Linked DNA regions of Homo sapiens: region 1 is linked to region 2. The links are contacts of gene promoters, found by promoter capture Hi-C in blood cells and fetal thymus (Javierre and others, 2016). All regions are on one chromosome and are shown on one strand. The core of a region is centred on a gene start or on the middle of the fragment in contact, and the rest is flanking DNA. Distances in the headings are between cores, read along the strand shown. Region 1 holds the start of GRM6 (glutamate metabotropic receptor 6). Region 2 holds the start of ZNF454 (zinc finger protein 454).

Region 1 (6,892 bases), core at 3,693-6,192, 54 kb after region 2:
CGTCCAGTGAGTGGAGCGTGCTTTCCTCGCACGCCATCCCAGTCAAGCGCTGCTTGGAGGGACGCGTCCACAGATGATCGGACTCATAGGATCTGGGGATCTGAGAAGGGATCTGGATTATGGCACCAATTACACAGATGCAGAAAATGAGCATCCCCAAGAGGGGGTGCTGGGGAGACGTGTGGGGTGGGGGATGGAGTGCCCCTGGACTCACCGTCGATGGAGGCCCTTTTGGGCAGGATGGTGATGGCCCCAACGGCCACGTCCTCCAGGCTCAAGATGGGTGAGGTCTTGGCTCCCCAGCTGTCTGAGCCGACCCACAGGAAGTGGCCGGTCAGGTTGGCCTGGCGAGCTGCCTCCAGGACCCGCCTGGTAGGAGCAGGGCTGGGGTGAGGGAGGGCCTGGGAGCCTCCTCCAGCTCGGCCCCCATCCCTTCCCACTCTATCCATCTCCCCTGCTCTATAATCACTCACCAGATCCTTGTTTCTCAGGAAAAACGGGGCCGGGGGCATTTAGGGCACCTTCCCTGGGCTTTCCTCTGACCCTAGGCCTGCCCACTTGCTCTGCCCACTGTAACCCACTGTTCAGGGGGTTCAGAGGGACTCCTTGGGGGAAAATCCAGTTCGAAGCCAGCCCCTCCCCACATGCCTCCACCAGCGTCACACCCAGCCTCCTAGGCTGGAGATGAACTCGGGCCGGTGGGTCTCGGGCTGGGGTCCGCAGCCTCTGTATGGACCCTGGGCTCCTTCCCTCACAGCTCATTTTCTGCACTAGGTTCTGCCCACAGGTCCCTCCCCGCACCCCCAGGAGCTGTAAACACAGACACATGTTCTGTGCGCTATTCAGTCTGGGCTTGTGGCATCTCCCCAGACCAGGCTGCTTCTGAGCCTGGGCACCAGACTCAGAGGCAGCAGCAGGGAAGGTGGGGGGTGCGGGGAGCAGGGGAAAGGGAGGCAGGGAGAGTGTGTAAGGTGGCGATGTGCAAGAGGAGGGGTGGGACCCTCAGGGAGAGCCCCAGGGGCCCGGTGATTGTGCCACTGTCCCACCTGATGTCATCCTCATTGGCAAAGATGATGATGCCCCGGGCGTTGGGCGTCTCCATGAGTCTCCTGATCACCTTGCTGAACTCTCCTGGCTTTGGTTCCCTGGGAATCTTGATAGACTGGGCAATACAGACCCCCCCTGGGCGTTGGGGGTGCCAGAGTCAGCTTCCGTCCCACCCACCCACACACCCACCTGGCCACCGCTGCAGAGGACTGTGTAGGCTGGCTGAAGGGTCTGCAGGGGTGAAGTCTGGCCTGCACCCTCCGCCAAGCCTGAGGCAGGGCTGAGTCGTCCAAAACAAAGAGGTCCCGCCCACATGGAGCACCAGCCAGGCAACCTCGGCCCAGCATGGACCTGGGCCCCCCATCTTTCTGCTTCTGCCCCAACTGAGGGCCCCGGGCCCACACTATGTAGACTCCTTGGTGCCTCGGAGCCCCCAGCTCACCAGCCTCTCGGGAGATCTGAACGAAGGCCTCAACCCCACTTTCGCCATAGTTGCCCTCGGAGGCCAGCGTGGACACATAGTTCCATCCCAGTGCCCTCACGATGTCCACCATGGCCTGCGCCTGGTAGGAGTCGGGTGGCACCACCCGGGAGAAGAAGTCATAGCGTGTGGAGTCGCTGAGCTCCGGGGCTGTGGAGGCATAGCTGATCTGGGGTATCTGTGGGGCAGGAAGGACAGCTGGGCTGTGGATGGAGGTCAGTAACTCAAGAGAGGGAGGGTAAGGGGGGCCCAGGACACGGACGGGGCACAGAAGGTGTGTGGCATGGACCTGGGACACAGATGGGAGATGGAAGGGTTGGGGTGGGGACCTGGGGCCAGCTGGAGCAGCCACCTGGAAAGGCTGGAAGCTGTGGTGTTTTGCGAGTGGGCCTGAGAATTCCGTGAATGCTGTGCAGGTGGGAGGTATGCAGGGCTGGGGAGAGGGCAGGACCGCCACATATACTGGTACAAGCTGTGTCCTGAACAAGGACCCCCAGCAGAGGGCCTGCAGCCCATCCAGCTGCATCTGCCTGTCCTAGTCAGGCCCAGGGCAAAGCACGTTTTCTTGATTCACACCAAGGGGTGGTCCGCAGGGACAGGCAGCCCTAGGAGGGATTAGGGCAGACAGGGGAGCAGCAGGGGATGTTCCATTTAAAGCTGTGTCTGGCCTAGGATGGGGATTGTTGGAAACTGGGTTTCTCTGCATGCATTAGAGTGATTAACAGCAGAGACCAGAGGCTGAACTGACCGGGGAGTGTGGAGGCAGAGACACGGGGCTGAGAAGGCCGCCAAGAGGGGGCTATGGGGCTCCAGCGCAAGAGGGGCTATAGCAGGAGCTGGTGTGAAGGCCAGAGAGGGGGAGTTTCTGGAAGGAGGGAGGGGGGCTGGTCCAGGGTTGTTTGAAGCAGGATAGAAAGTATAGAGACAGCATGAAAAGGAAGCCGGGAGTGGCAGGGAGAGAGAAAGAAAGAGGGAAGGTGGGGCTGGAGAGAAACAAGAAGGAGAGAGGGAGAGAGAGAGAGAGAAACAACTGAGGAGACCGAGAGACGAGAAAGGCCCAGTGGCCACAGCTCAGTGAATAATGCTGTGGTCCTCCCAGCTCTCCTGGACACTTGAGTTTGGGAACAACCCTCCCATGCCCCCTGGACCTCCTGAGGGAAGTTAATTTAAAATGCCTGCCAGCACGGTCATGTGGCTGGGAAATGAATGTAGTTCTTTTAGACCAGGAATTGCAGCATCTTGCCTGTGGCTGTGTTTTGCACAGTTTTTATTAATGTTTGCATTTCTAGCCGGGCAGCACAACCTCAATCTGGGCTGAGCTGGCAGCAGCGGGCCCTGGGCTCACAGAGTCCTGCCCACCTGAGTCCCCAACTGGGCCCCTGAAGGCCTTGGGGTCTGGAATCTCTGCATTCGACCTAGAGGACAGAGACAGAAACTAGAGCTCTAGGCAGGGCCGGGGACACATACAGGTGGGTGAAAAACCCCTGGGCGGCCGCACAGCCTGTCTGGTGCCAGCGTGGAGATGTCACATCAACACTGCCAATCCGAGGAAACAGGGATGGGGGCTTTCATGTGCGCAGACGATAGGGAGCGGCCCCGCACGCCTGGAACAAACACAGACGCTGCGCCCGGGAGTCGGAGAAGCTCTCAGGAAACAGAAGTTCCTCTCCTAGGTAGATGGAAGCCAGGCCTTCCTCCTTCACAGAGAGCCGGATGCACACAGGCCCCTCCCGCCACAGAACCCCAGAAAAACTGTCCCACAACCCCCAGTGAATGACCAAATCGAAAACCCCCAAACTTGTATGCCAAAGCCCTCCTAATCCCGATTCTGCTGGCCCCTAGGACTGCAAGGAACACGCTGCCCCTCACGGGACAGTTCCCTACATTTGAGGACAGAGCAGGGCCAGCCCGGGCACCTGCGCAGGGCAGGGTGCAGGAGACCAGAGCTCAGAAGGGAACGCCCCGCCCTGCTCTCAGATGCCCCTTGAGGGAGAGTTCAAGGCATTTTGAAAATAAATTTAAATGATCAAAAAAGAGAAAGACCAGACCTTTCAGGCCTATCCATCCCCCATAGCAGCCCAGGGACACGCCCCAGTTGCTGCTCTGGAAGAAGGGCCCGGGTTCCAAACAAAACTCAAAGTTGCAATATCACTCGAGCGCTCCGCAGGCCCAGGGGGCAGGAGCACCTTGTATGGTTGCAGGGGTGTGCCCAGAACAAGGGCACCCGAGCAGGCTGGCAAATGGGGGCTGAAGTCAGGCCGCCCTCCCCAGCCAACCGGCCAGAGGCGTAGGTGGCACCCGCCCGGGAAGGGGCGCCCTCGCGGGGCGGGGTAGACATGGGCGGCTGGAGTGTTTGGGTGGAGCCGATTCAGGCCTGCGTCGGGCTCAACTGACAGGGCTTCTTTGACGCTGTGTGAATTCGAGTGATTAAAACGGAGACTCTTTCAGAAGAAGTAAAGGAAGGAGACTTGGGCCACCCCAGGGCGAGGACGGGAGAGGGACGCTGGACACCGAGCCCGGCCCCGCGGCCCTCACCGCAAACAGGCGCAGCACGTTGGCGACCATGATGGAGACGGAGCTGGCCGAGGCGCCCACGACGGCCACGACGCGCTCGGGGGGCGCGGGGCGCAGCGGAGGGACGCCTCCCGGGCAGCGCACGCCCACCTCGTCGCCGTCGCCGCGGCCGCGGATCAGCGCCTGCACGAAGCTCAGCGCCTGCTCCAGCGCGTAGGTGTCCCGCGAGCAGGTGTCCAGCAGCCGCGCGCCCAGGCGCACGCCGGGCAGCAGCTCGGGGTCGGCGTTGACGCGGTCCAGCGCGTACAGCATGGCCTCCAGCCGGTGCACGCCCTGCTCCTTCTTCAGCTGCCCGCACGCCCGGCCCGCCGCGCCCCGCGCGTGCACCGGGAACAGGCCGCCCAGCGTCAGGCCGCCCGCCAGGCGCACAGAGCCCGCCGCGCGCGCCAGGCCCGCCTGCGCCAGCCACGCCAGCGGCAGCAGCGCCACGAGCAGCGGCTCCCGGGCTCTCCGGGGCCGCGCCATCGGCTCGTCTAGCGGGCTGCGGGGAGACAGAGGGGCGGGGAGCGCTCTGAGGGCGGGGGAAGGAGAGCGCGGGCTCGGGGCGCGGGGAGGGACACCGGGGTCCTGGGGAGAAGGCGCTCGGGGCGCGCCTTCCACTTCGGCTCTGGGGAGTTAGCTCAGCCGGCCTGCCCGGGCCTCCGTCTCGCTCTTACAAGCGCCGAACCCTGTCGCCCGGGGTCCCGCCCGACCACTGCCTCCACCCCTCCAGCCCTGCCGCTTCCCGACAGCTTGGCCCCTCTTCCTCGGGGTCCATCCCCAGCGCACACCCAGGCTCCCGCCCCAAGCCAGTCACCTGCGCCAGCCGCTGTCGGTTCAGGACAAGTCTGTGACAGATGCGGCCGAGGCCCTGAGCGAGAGAGGATTTAAGGATTCTAGGGAGGGATGAGAGACCGCTCCGAGGGTGGAGACCCCTCCTGAGTGTGGGGGGTGGCGGTGCTGGCTCTCCCCGCATCTCCTTCCCCTCCCTCTCCCAATCTCTGGGTCTGTTTTCCTGTTTTCTTGTCTTTGGTTTGCGTCTGACTCAGACTGTCTGGCTGTCTCTGGGGCTGTGTCTGACACAATCTCTGTCCATCTCTATCTCAGTCTTCTTCTGCCTCTAGGTCTCTGTTTCTCAGTCTCTGTCCCTGGCTTTCTGCCTCTGTCCTCTTCTTGGAAATCTTTTCTGTCTCTGTCCCTTCCTGTCTCTCCCTGCGGTTATCTCTCTCTGTCCCTGACCCCTTTTCTGTCTCTCTGTCTCTGTCCTGGCCACCAGTGCTCCTGACTGCAGTTGCCTAAGGTATTCCCCAGCTTTCTCCTTGCAGAACCCTGCAGGGGGCAGGGGCTGCCTGAGCTGGGAGGGCCTAAGGAAGAGGAGGAAGAGCGAGGGGCAGGAAGGGGCCAGGAGGGAGAAGCCTTTAGTATTAGCGAACTTACAACACCCTGCAGTCGAGAAACAGCCCTCGAGGAGTGAGTTGAGTTGCCCAAGTGCATGCAGCTGGCATGTGTGGGCATCAGGATTCACACCCAGAATGGCATGAAACAAACAGCCCACACTGCCTTGGATGGAGGGAGGGGAGGGGCCGGCTTTCCTCGCAGCTCCCACTCCCGCCTATTGCTTGGGAGGATGGAACCCCGCGGGGTCGTTCTGGCTCCGTATAAAGTCTCCTCGGGCTCTGGGTCTGAGGCAGCCACTCGAGCTGCGGTGCTCACTGTGCCAACGCTCTCTGCACCTAACTCCCCATCTCATCGTGGAGGCCAAGGTGAGGGGGCTTGGCCAAAAGATGCTTTTATCATCCCCCCATCCGAGGCCCAGGATTTGGCTCTCTGATGCCAAGAGAGCAAAGGGCGTCCTGGAGACAGGTGGTGAGCTCCTAGCCACAGGGATTAGCAGGCTCCTCGTCCGAGGGCCTGAGCCGGCTTGGGCTCCATTAGACAGGCTGGATTAGGGTGGCTGCGGGGATTTGGACAAGGCTGGTAGAGGGAGCAAGCAAGAAACATGCCACCTTTCTCTCTTCCCCCGCCTCTCCCAGGCCCCGATAGTTTCTACTGCCAGAACCACTTCTCCTGGTGGAAGCCCAGAGTCAACAGGCTGGGCCTAGCCCTGCTCCTATCCATTTTAACAGTGGGAAGGGTGGGGAGCTTGGCTGGTGCCAGGCCCTGAGCCTGACATTGCGAAGGACTGCATAAACTGGGTTTGGGAGGTGGATGGGCCCTTCCCTGTTCAGGACGAGCCTGACAGCTCCCAGCACACAGCAGCCTCCTGCTTGGCATGACCAAGGCAGCCACTGCCCCTGTCTGGAGGACAGACCATCAGGAAGCGGGGGCAGCAGCTGGGGGACTGGCAGGGGGTCCTCGCCGTGTAGGAGGGAGGCATGCACACCTGTGAGCAGGGGGCTGGAGGAGAAGGGGAGGGGGGTGGCAGGATTTTAGACCTGATGGAGATTTGGCTCTTGGAGGGGTGGAGGATGGCATAGCTGCTGGGGCATTCCCTGAGAATATGAGGACCAGAGACACAGCTGAGCAGGTCAAGGAGGGCAGAAGCCAAGAGTTCGGGTTTGGGCAGGAAAGTGGAGGCTTCGTGGTTCATGAGCCTGGAACTGAGGGAAGAGGCCAGGGCGGGAGAGAAAGCTGAGGTGGGATCGCCACGGAGGCGTTTAAAGCCGTGGGACGCAGGAGTTCCCTGGGGCTGAGAGTGTGGACAGACAGTGAGGCTGGAGCCCCAGGAACCCCAACATGCAGGTCTGAGCAGAAGTAAGGAGACTGGGAGGGGGTGGCCGAGGAGTTAGAGGAGAAGCAGGAGCGTAGGCA
Region 2 (7,422 bases), core at 995-3,494:
GTGGCTCATGCCTGTAATCCCAGCACTTTAGGGGGCCGATGCGGGCGGATCACCTGAAGTCAGGAGTTCAGCCTGACCAACCTGGGGAAACCCCATCTCTACTAAAAGTACAAAATTATCCAGGCGTGATGGCGCATGCATGTAGTCCCAGCTACAGGGGAGGCTGAGGCAGGAGAATTGCTTGAACCCGGGAGGCGGAGCTTGCGGTAAGCCGAGGTCATGCCATTGCACCCCAGCCCGGGCAACAAAAGTGAAACTGTGTCTCAAACAAAAAAACTCCCAACATGTAGTTAGTGCTCAATACATATTATCATTCTTAAATTCCTGAAAACAATAATATCCAAACTCCTGAGCATAGCACCCAAAACCCTTCAATATCTTAGAATCATTAGGCTCTCAAAGCAAATGCCTTGTGGAAAGGTTATATAATTGTGGGAGGCTACTTGTAATTGTGGACTGCTGTCATTGCCTCCTCATTGGTCTTCCTGTATCCCCTCTAGCCCCACCACTGTCTGCCTTCTTTGAAGCTGACCAGTGCGTCTATCAAAACGTGCCCAGCCATGTCACTCTTTCAAATCTAATCATTTCCAGGCACAGAAATAAATCCAAATTTCCTTCCTTCAAGGCCTGTAGTTACTCCTGCAACAGCATCTCGCAGTCTTCCTTGTTCAGTAGGCCCTCGCCAGTCATACTGACCTTGCCAAGCCTGGAGTTCACCAAGCACACTTCTCTCTGGTCAGCATTTCTGTTCCCTCCCTTTAGAAGGCACTTTACCCATACAGTCACATCGTTTCTTCCCTCACTGTATTCAAATCTCTGCTCAGGTGTTACCTCCTCAAAGAGAACTTCCAAAACTGCTGCTTGAAATAATTCCCCGCCCCATCACACCCTAACCCCTAACAGTAGTGTTATCACTACCAGATAAATACTTTCTACTTGTCTGACCCCTCCTCTAGTACAATTAAAACTCCATGAGTGCAGGGTTTTCACAGCTATTTCTCCAGCCCCTGGACTCGGGGTTCTTACTCTCTGGAGCCCAGTTTGAGTGACCTGGAGTCACGAGGGAGGCGAGAGAGAAGGGTTACCAGCGATACTCACACAACATCCTCCCCCTCTGGTGCTTTGCCGGGTCCCTGGGAACTGCTACAGGGGCTGCACAGCGGCTGACCCTGGCCTTGTCAAGCACTTGACACATAAGTGCTCCAAAGTGTCTATGGAATGAAATCTTCAATAAAACTCCAAACAGAATGCTGTAGTCACTGACACTGCTTCCTAAAACGTGGCCAACAATTCCGTATGTGACAAACAGGTCACATTCTTGATTTTTTTTAACGACCAACAAAGTTAAAACCCTCTCATCTTTCCTTCCTGAGCTCCATGCAAATTACCTATTCAAAAGCAACTAAGTATCTCCAGTTGGATATTCTTAGGCATCATCTCATCCTTGCCAGTCTCTGCAAAATATGGTCGACAAAAATAAATACCACCTTCTTAAATACCACCCAGCTGTCCAAGATGGAGACTTCCTGGCATCCAGGCGCCTTCCTCTCCCTCGTCCCCACCTCTGAGAAGTTCCCAAGCACGAAGTGTTCTGCGTCCCGAACATTCCAGGGGCCGCCAGCCACCATGGGCTCTGTCCTGAGGTGCCAAGCAGGACATCCCTGCCCGACATCCTTGTCCTCCCGCACCGCACACGCGTTAGTGGCTGTGGCGTCGCCACCCCAGCACACGCTGGCCCGCCCGCAGTGCCAGGCTGGAAGTGTCGGGCGCTTGCCAGGCCAAGGGGCAATTCTGTTGCCTTCCAGGCCTTTTCGGCGCGGTCCCAGTCAGGAACGCGCCCTGTCGCCTCCCACTCCGTCTTCCGGACCCTCCCGATCCTCTCTCGTCAGCGATCGGGCGTCGCTCCCCTGGACTAACCTCCCTTGCCCCATCTTCAGCTTTTCGCTGATCTGCATCTTCCTGCGCCTTAGTGCAAGGCAGAGACCTGGTTCTAAAGCGAACGGAACGGAACCGATTCTGTAAGTTGCAATGAGCGCGCTGAGGTCGGCGTGGAGGGGTCTCTGGGAAAGGTAGTTTCCGCGCCTAAAGCGCCGGGGCCGGGCCCTGTTCCCGCAGGCGCAAGGCAGCACTGTCTCCGCCGATTGTCCCTCTGGGAAGTGGAGTCTGGCCGGCGGAACTGCAGCAGCCCTGAGACTTGTGGGAATTCGGCCCAAGGGTTCCCAGGGCAACGCGCAAGCGCAGTTCGGCTCCCGGCTGCAGACTCCAGCTCATTGTGTTCTGACTGCGATGTGGCGCTTGCGATCTCTCGCCGCCGGCAGAGGCTCCTCGAAGAGCGACACGGGGCTGACCAGGCACGGTGGTCAAAGCCGCAGAGGGAGAGCGGGAGCGGTCGTGAGGTCGTCTGGGGAGAAGGGCGGAGGCAAAGCCGAGGAGGTGCGGGTTGTGGTCCATTCTGGAGGACGCTGATCGAATGCCCCAAACTTCCCGGAATGTATGTCTGAGATTTGATCCCAGAGAGGGAGGACGGCCAGGGGTGGTCATCCTGGGCTGAGGGTCGAGTCTGTGAGTGCCTGTGGAGGAGATGGAGCCAGGGCCTCTGGCATGTGTCTTGGAGCGGACTCCGAGAAGCCCAGGGTTTCCTCTCAGGTGATAGATACACGCCTGGCGTGGTTCCGAGTCCTGCGCCAGGAACTCGCCAAGGCCGGAGGCAGCCGCTGCGCAGCCCCTGCCACAGCCCCCGAGGGACCTGGCGAAGCGGCAGGGGCGGGACGGGGCTGTGTGTGATTAGGGTTCCTAACCCTTCCCTCTCCCCTCCCGCCCAGCTCACACAAACGCCGCTTCTGCCCACCCGTGACTCCAGGCCACCCAGACTGGGCCCCAGAGAGTGAGAACACTGAGGCCAGAGAAGGGTTTGCCTGAGAGGCTTCGACAGTGAAGAGCCTTCTTAGCCTCCTTTCTGAGGAGGAAGAAGACCACCCTCCTTTTCCTCTTCTCCTGTCACTGCCAGATAAGGCAGCTGTTCCAAAGCCGCAGAGGGAGAGCGGAGCGGTCTTCCAATCCAGTCGAACCCAGACACTGCCCTCCGTTGCCTCTCCCCAGCGCTCCCACCTTTTCGGGTACATCCTGGTGGGTTCTGGAGCTGAATAACTTGTTAAAGAGATAATTCTCGGCCGAGTGCGGCGGCTCACGCCTGTAATCCCAGTACTTTGGGAGGCCGAGGCGAGCCGATCACCTGAGGTCCGGAGTTCGAGACCAGTCCGACCAACATGGTGAAATCCCGGTCTCTACTAAAAATATAAAAAATTAGCCGGGCGTGGTGGCGGGTGCGTGTAATCCCAGCTACTCCGGAGACTGGGGCGGGAGAATCGCTTGAACCCGGAAGGCGGAGGTTGCAGTGAGCCAAGATCGTGCCACTGCACTCCAGCCTAGGTGACAGAGCGAGACTCTGTCTCAAACAAACAAACAAAAAAAGAATTCTCTTGAGATCGCTCAGTGAGGCTGAAGGGAAAGACCAGAGGGTGGGTGGAAGGCATGAGAACTGGACCTGGAGCAGGCTTTCTGCAGGGAAAAGTCAATGTATAGTACCCTCAGAAGGAGGAGAGAGAATGGGGAGCAAACAGGAACCAAAACACTCACTGCTTGGGGTACTGGAGGCCTCCCAGGATGTGAATGCTCACTGCCTCGCTCTGGACTGCTGTATGAGAGCTTTTGACCCAGTTCTCTCCTAATAGCAGGTGTGTGGACCCTTCTAGCCTGAGGAGTCCTGCAGGTGTGAAGCTCCACACCTGCCTCCATAGCACTTTGCCTGTCCCTAAGAGGGCTCATCGGAGAAGAAAGAATGGCTGTCAGCCACCTGCCAACCATGGTCCAGGTGAGTGGGGGTTTCTTCCCCCTAAATTGCTTTCTGGATTTGAAGAGTGTGGCATGTTTGCTTCCTCAGACCGGGAGCTTTATTCCCAATCCAGTCCCACCCAGACACTGACCTCAGTTGCCTCTCCCCAACCAACACCCTCCAACCCCGCCCCATATCCGGCTCATCCTGGTGGGTGTTGCAGCTGTATAACTTGCTAAAGGTCACATAAATGTCACAGCTGGGACTGGAACCCAGGTCCCTGTGAAATCAAAACCTGTACTCTTTTCACTAGCAAGTAAGATTAGGGATCTGAAGTGGTAAAAGCATGTATTAGTCCCTTTTTACATTGCTCTAAATAAATATCTGAGGCTGGGGAATTGATAAGAAGTTTAATTGGCCCACGGTTCTGTAGGCTGTACAGGAAGCATGGTGTCAGCATCCACTTCTGATGAGGACTTTAAAAGCTTCCAATCATGGCAGAAGGTGAAGGGGGAGCAGGTGTATCACACGGTGAGAAAGGGAGCAAGAGAGAGAAGTGGGAGGTCCTAGACTCTTAAACAACTGGATCTCACGTGAACCAACTGAGCGAGAATTCACTCATCACCAAGAGGATGGCACTAAGCCATTCACGAGGGATCTACCCCCATGATCCAACACCTCCCACCAGGCCCCCCCTCCAACATTGGAGGTCACATTTCAACAGGAGAGTTGGAAGGGACATACATCCAAACTATATCAGGGCAGTATCTCACACAGAGCTCAAAGAAGGGCATTGTAGGAACACTTTTCTGGGGAGGTGTGATTTACTAGACTCTTTTTCTTTTATGACATTTGGTTTTTTTACCAATGAAATTATTCAAAAGACTATTCTGCCAAAAAGTCCTATAAATTCCTAAAACGCTTTGAGCAGTCCTAGCATCTTTAGAATAAGAATATGGGCCAGACGCGGTGGCTCACGCCTGTAATCCCAGCACTTTGGGAGGCCAAGGCCAGCGGATCACGAGGTCAGGAGATCGAGACCATCCTGGCTAACACAGTGAAACCCCGTCTCTACTAAAATTACAAAAAAAATTAGCTGGGCGTGGTGGTGGGCGCCTGTAGTCCCAGCTACTCGGGAGGCTGAGGCAGGAGAATGGCGTGAACCCAGGAGGCGGAGCTTGCAGTGAGCCAAGATTGTGCCAGTGCACTCCAGCCTGAGTGACAGAGCGAGACTCCATCTCAAAAATAAAAAATAAAAAAGAATATGGACTGTGCTTTGAAGGAGACAGCATTCATTTGGGCATATACATTCTGATACATTTGGTTAAATTGTTCTAATTCCTTCACATTTAAACCTCCCCAAGGACTGGGATGTGTGGCAGGAATCACTGGAAAGGATGACCAGCTAGGTGGGAGCGCCATGTTCAACATAGCACAGCTCACCGGCTGTTCCCCTCCTCCTCTTGGCTTCTGACTTGTCACTTAGGACCCTTCTCATGCACCACTTTTTCTGCAAAACCTGTCCGCACCCACAGTGCCAGTCTACTGTGATATTTTCCTTCCTTAACCTTTTCCTCAAAGTCACTGTCGGTGTCATACAATTTATCTTGTGTTTATAGGCTGCCTTGATTTGGTTGCCATTCAGCAGACATATGTTAGGGCTGTAAAATGTGCCAGGAATTATGATCTGGGCTACAAATACAAAGTGAACGATAAATGGGCCCTGACAAATTGGTTCATGGCTTCCATCCAAGTGTTTCTTGACTGCCTGTCATGGGCCAAGTCTCTGGGTGCAGGTAACGGAAACCTAATTCAGACTGCCTCAGGCAGAAGCAGGCACTGACTGGAAAGATATGGAGGTGTTCCCCCAAATGCAAAGGCAAAGACACAGCTAGATGTTGACTGTGGAAGTGGGATCTACAATAACCTGAGAGTCCTTTCTCTTGGACCTTTGGTTCCTTCTCTGGGCTTCTGCTTACCTCTTTTTTCTCAGTGAACACCAGCTCCCTTAACTTCTCAGCCAACTGGGAAGACAAGAGCTGTGATAGCTACTGGATTTTACATGCTAGGTTAGGTTTCGGCTACACCTGTGTGTCAGGACAGAGAGACTTTCCTCTGTGACCCCCTCTCAGAGTTTCTAAGAAAGGGACTAGTTCTAATCAGAAGGAACAAGTTTCCTATTGTGCAGAATGACTGGTTCCATGGGACCCATGTGTGTGTATGCACATGTGCACACGTGTGCATGTGTGTGTGTGTGTTGAGGGTGTGTGTCACAGGGTGTGTGTGGGGGTATTTGTGGGGGGGTGTGTGTGTTCGGGTGTGTGTGCGCGCTTGCATGTGTGCGTGTGTGTCGTGTGTGTGTTGAGGGTCTGGGGGATGTGTAGGGCTGTGTCTTTGTATGTGAGTTTGTGTGTATGTGTCTGTGTGTTTGTGTGTGTGTCTCTGTGTGTGTATTTGTATGTTGGGGTATGGGTATGGGTATGTGTTGTGTGTATGTGCATGCGCACTTGTGTGGTACGTGTCTGTCTGTGTATGTTTGTGTGTGTTTGTATGTGGGTGTATGGATATGGGTTGTGTGTGTGTGTCTCTGTGTCTGTGTGTGAGTTTATGTGTGTTTGTGAGGGGTACGGATATGGGTGTGTGTATGCTTGTGTGTGTATGTGAATGTGGGGGGGGTGTGTCGTGTGTGTGTATGTGGAGGGATATGGGTGTGTATGCTTGTGTCTGTGCATCTCTGTGTGGGGGGTGTGGGTATGGGTCTGTGTTTGTATATAGGTGTATGTGTGTGTCTGTGTGCTTGTGTATGTGTCTCTGTGTGTAGGGGGTGTGGATATGGGTGTGTGTTTTGTGTGTGTGTGTATGTGGAAGGGTATGGGTATGTATGCTTGTGTGTGTGTGTCTCTGTGTGTGGGGGGGTGTGGGTATGGGTGTGTGTGTGTGTTGAGGATGGGGAGGTACACACTGAAGAAAAGCAGGAGTTGCTGAGCAGCCACAGATAGGTGTCGAGTACATGGGCCGTGTTCCAGATGCAGGGAAGGCCAAGAGATGTAGAGACAGACAGTCCACATCTTGGAGTTAACAGTCCAGCGGGGGAGACTGAAGGTAAACCAAACATCACAATAAAATGGGACAGTGTCTTGATGGGCCCTCATAGGCAACTGTAGGAGCCATCAGGGAAGGCTGCGCTGAGCGAGCGGTGTTGAGTGAGCCGTGTCTATGCTGAGACCTGCGTAGGATTTGGTCCCCTGGGGTGAGCGGAGAGGCAGGGCTAGGCGGTTTGAGGGAGATGGAGAAAATGTTCTGGGCTAAATGAATGGCAAGTTGGAAGTCCCAGTGCTGAGAAAGCCTATCTTCGCCACCATATATGTTTCTTCAGCGTGGAGAGCAATGTCTAGTCCAAGGCTAGGCCCCTAGGAGACCCTGAAGAGTGATGAACTTGTCACAGAACGCCAGCTCCCTGTGTGCCAGCAGTCCTGTAAATGCGCACAAGCTCCTAGGGGCTGCCAGTCTCTTTTCCAGAGAACCATGTGCAGGGGTAGCCCCTGGTCAAGGAGAATGAATTTGCTGTTGCAGGAATCGGTGACCTTCAA

Evidence for each region. Contacts are between HindIII fragments. The CHiCAGO score rates a contact against its expected background, and 5 or more counts as called.
Region 1: the fragment with the promoter of GRM6 here is called in contact with the fragment with the promoter of ZNF454 in region 2 in 17 of 17 cell types (M0 macrophages, naive CD8 T cells, neutrophils and 14 more); the score reaches 13.5 in M0 macrophages.

The regions. Positions count from the first base shown.
Region 1 is chr5:178,990,378-178,997,269 of GRCh38, forward strand. GRM6 (glutamate metabotropic receptor 6) reads right to left here and starts at 4,943. Exons shown (of 11, transcript NM_000843.4): 1 at 4,899-4,943; 2 at 4,064-4,583; 3 at 1,490-1,706; 4 at 1,047-1,182; 5 at 215-369. The coding sequence starts at 4,567. The HindIII fragment of the contact is 9,329 bases long and covers 1-6,892 here.
Region 2 is chr5:178,938,954-178,946,375 of GRCh38, forward strand. ZNF454 (zinc finger protein 454) reads left to right here and starts at 2,245. Exons shown (of 5, transcript NM_001178089.3): 1 at 2,245-2,491; 2 at 3,732-3,871; 3 at 7,406-7,422. The coding sequence starts at 3,839. ZNF454-DT (ZNF454 divergent transcript) reads right to left here and starts at 2,062. Exons shown (of 1, transcript NR_186409.1): 1 at 1-2,062. The HindIII fragment of the contact is 10,957 bases long and covers 1-4,315 here.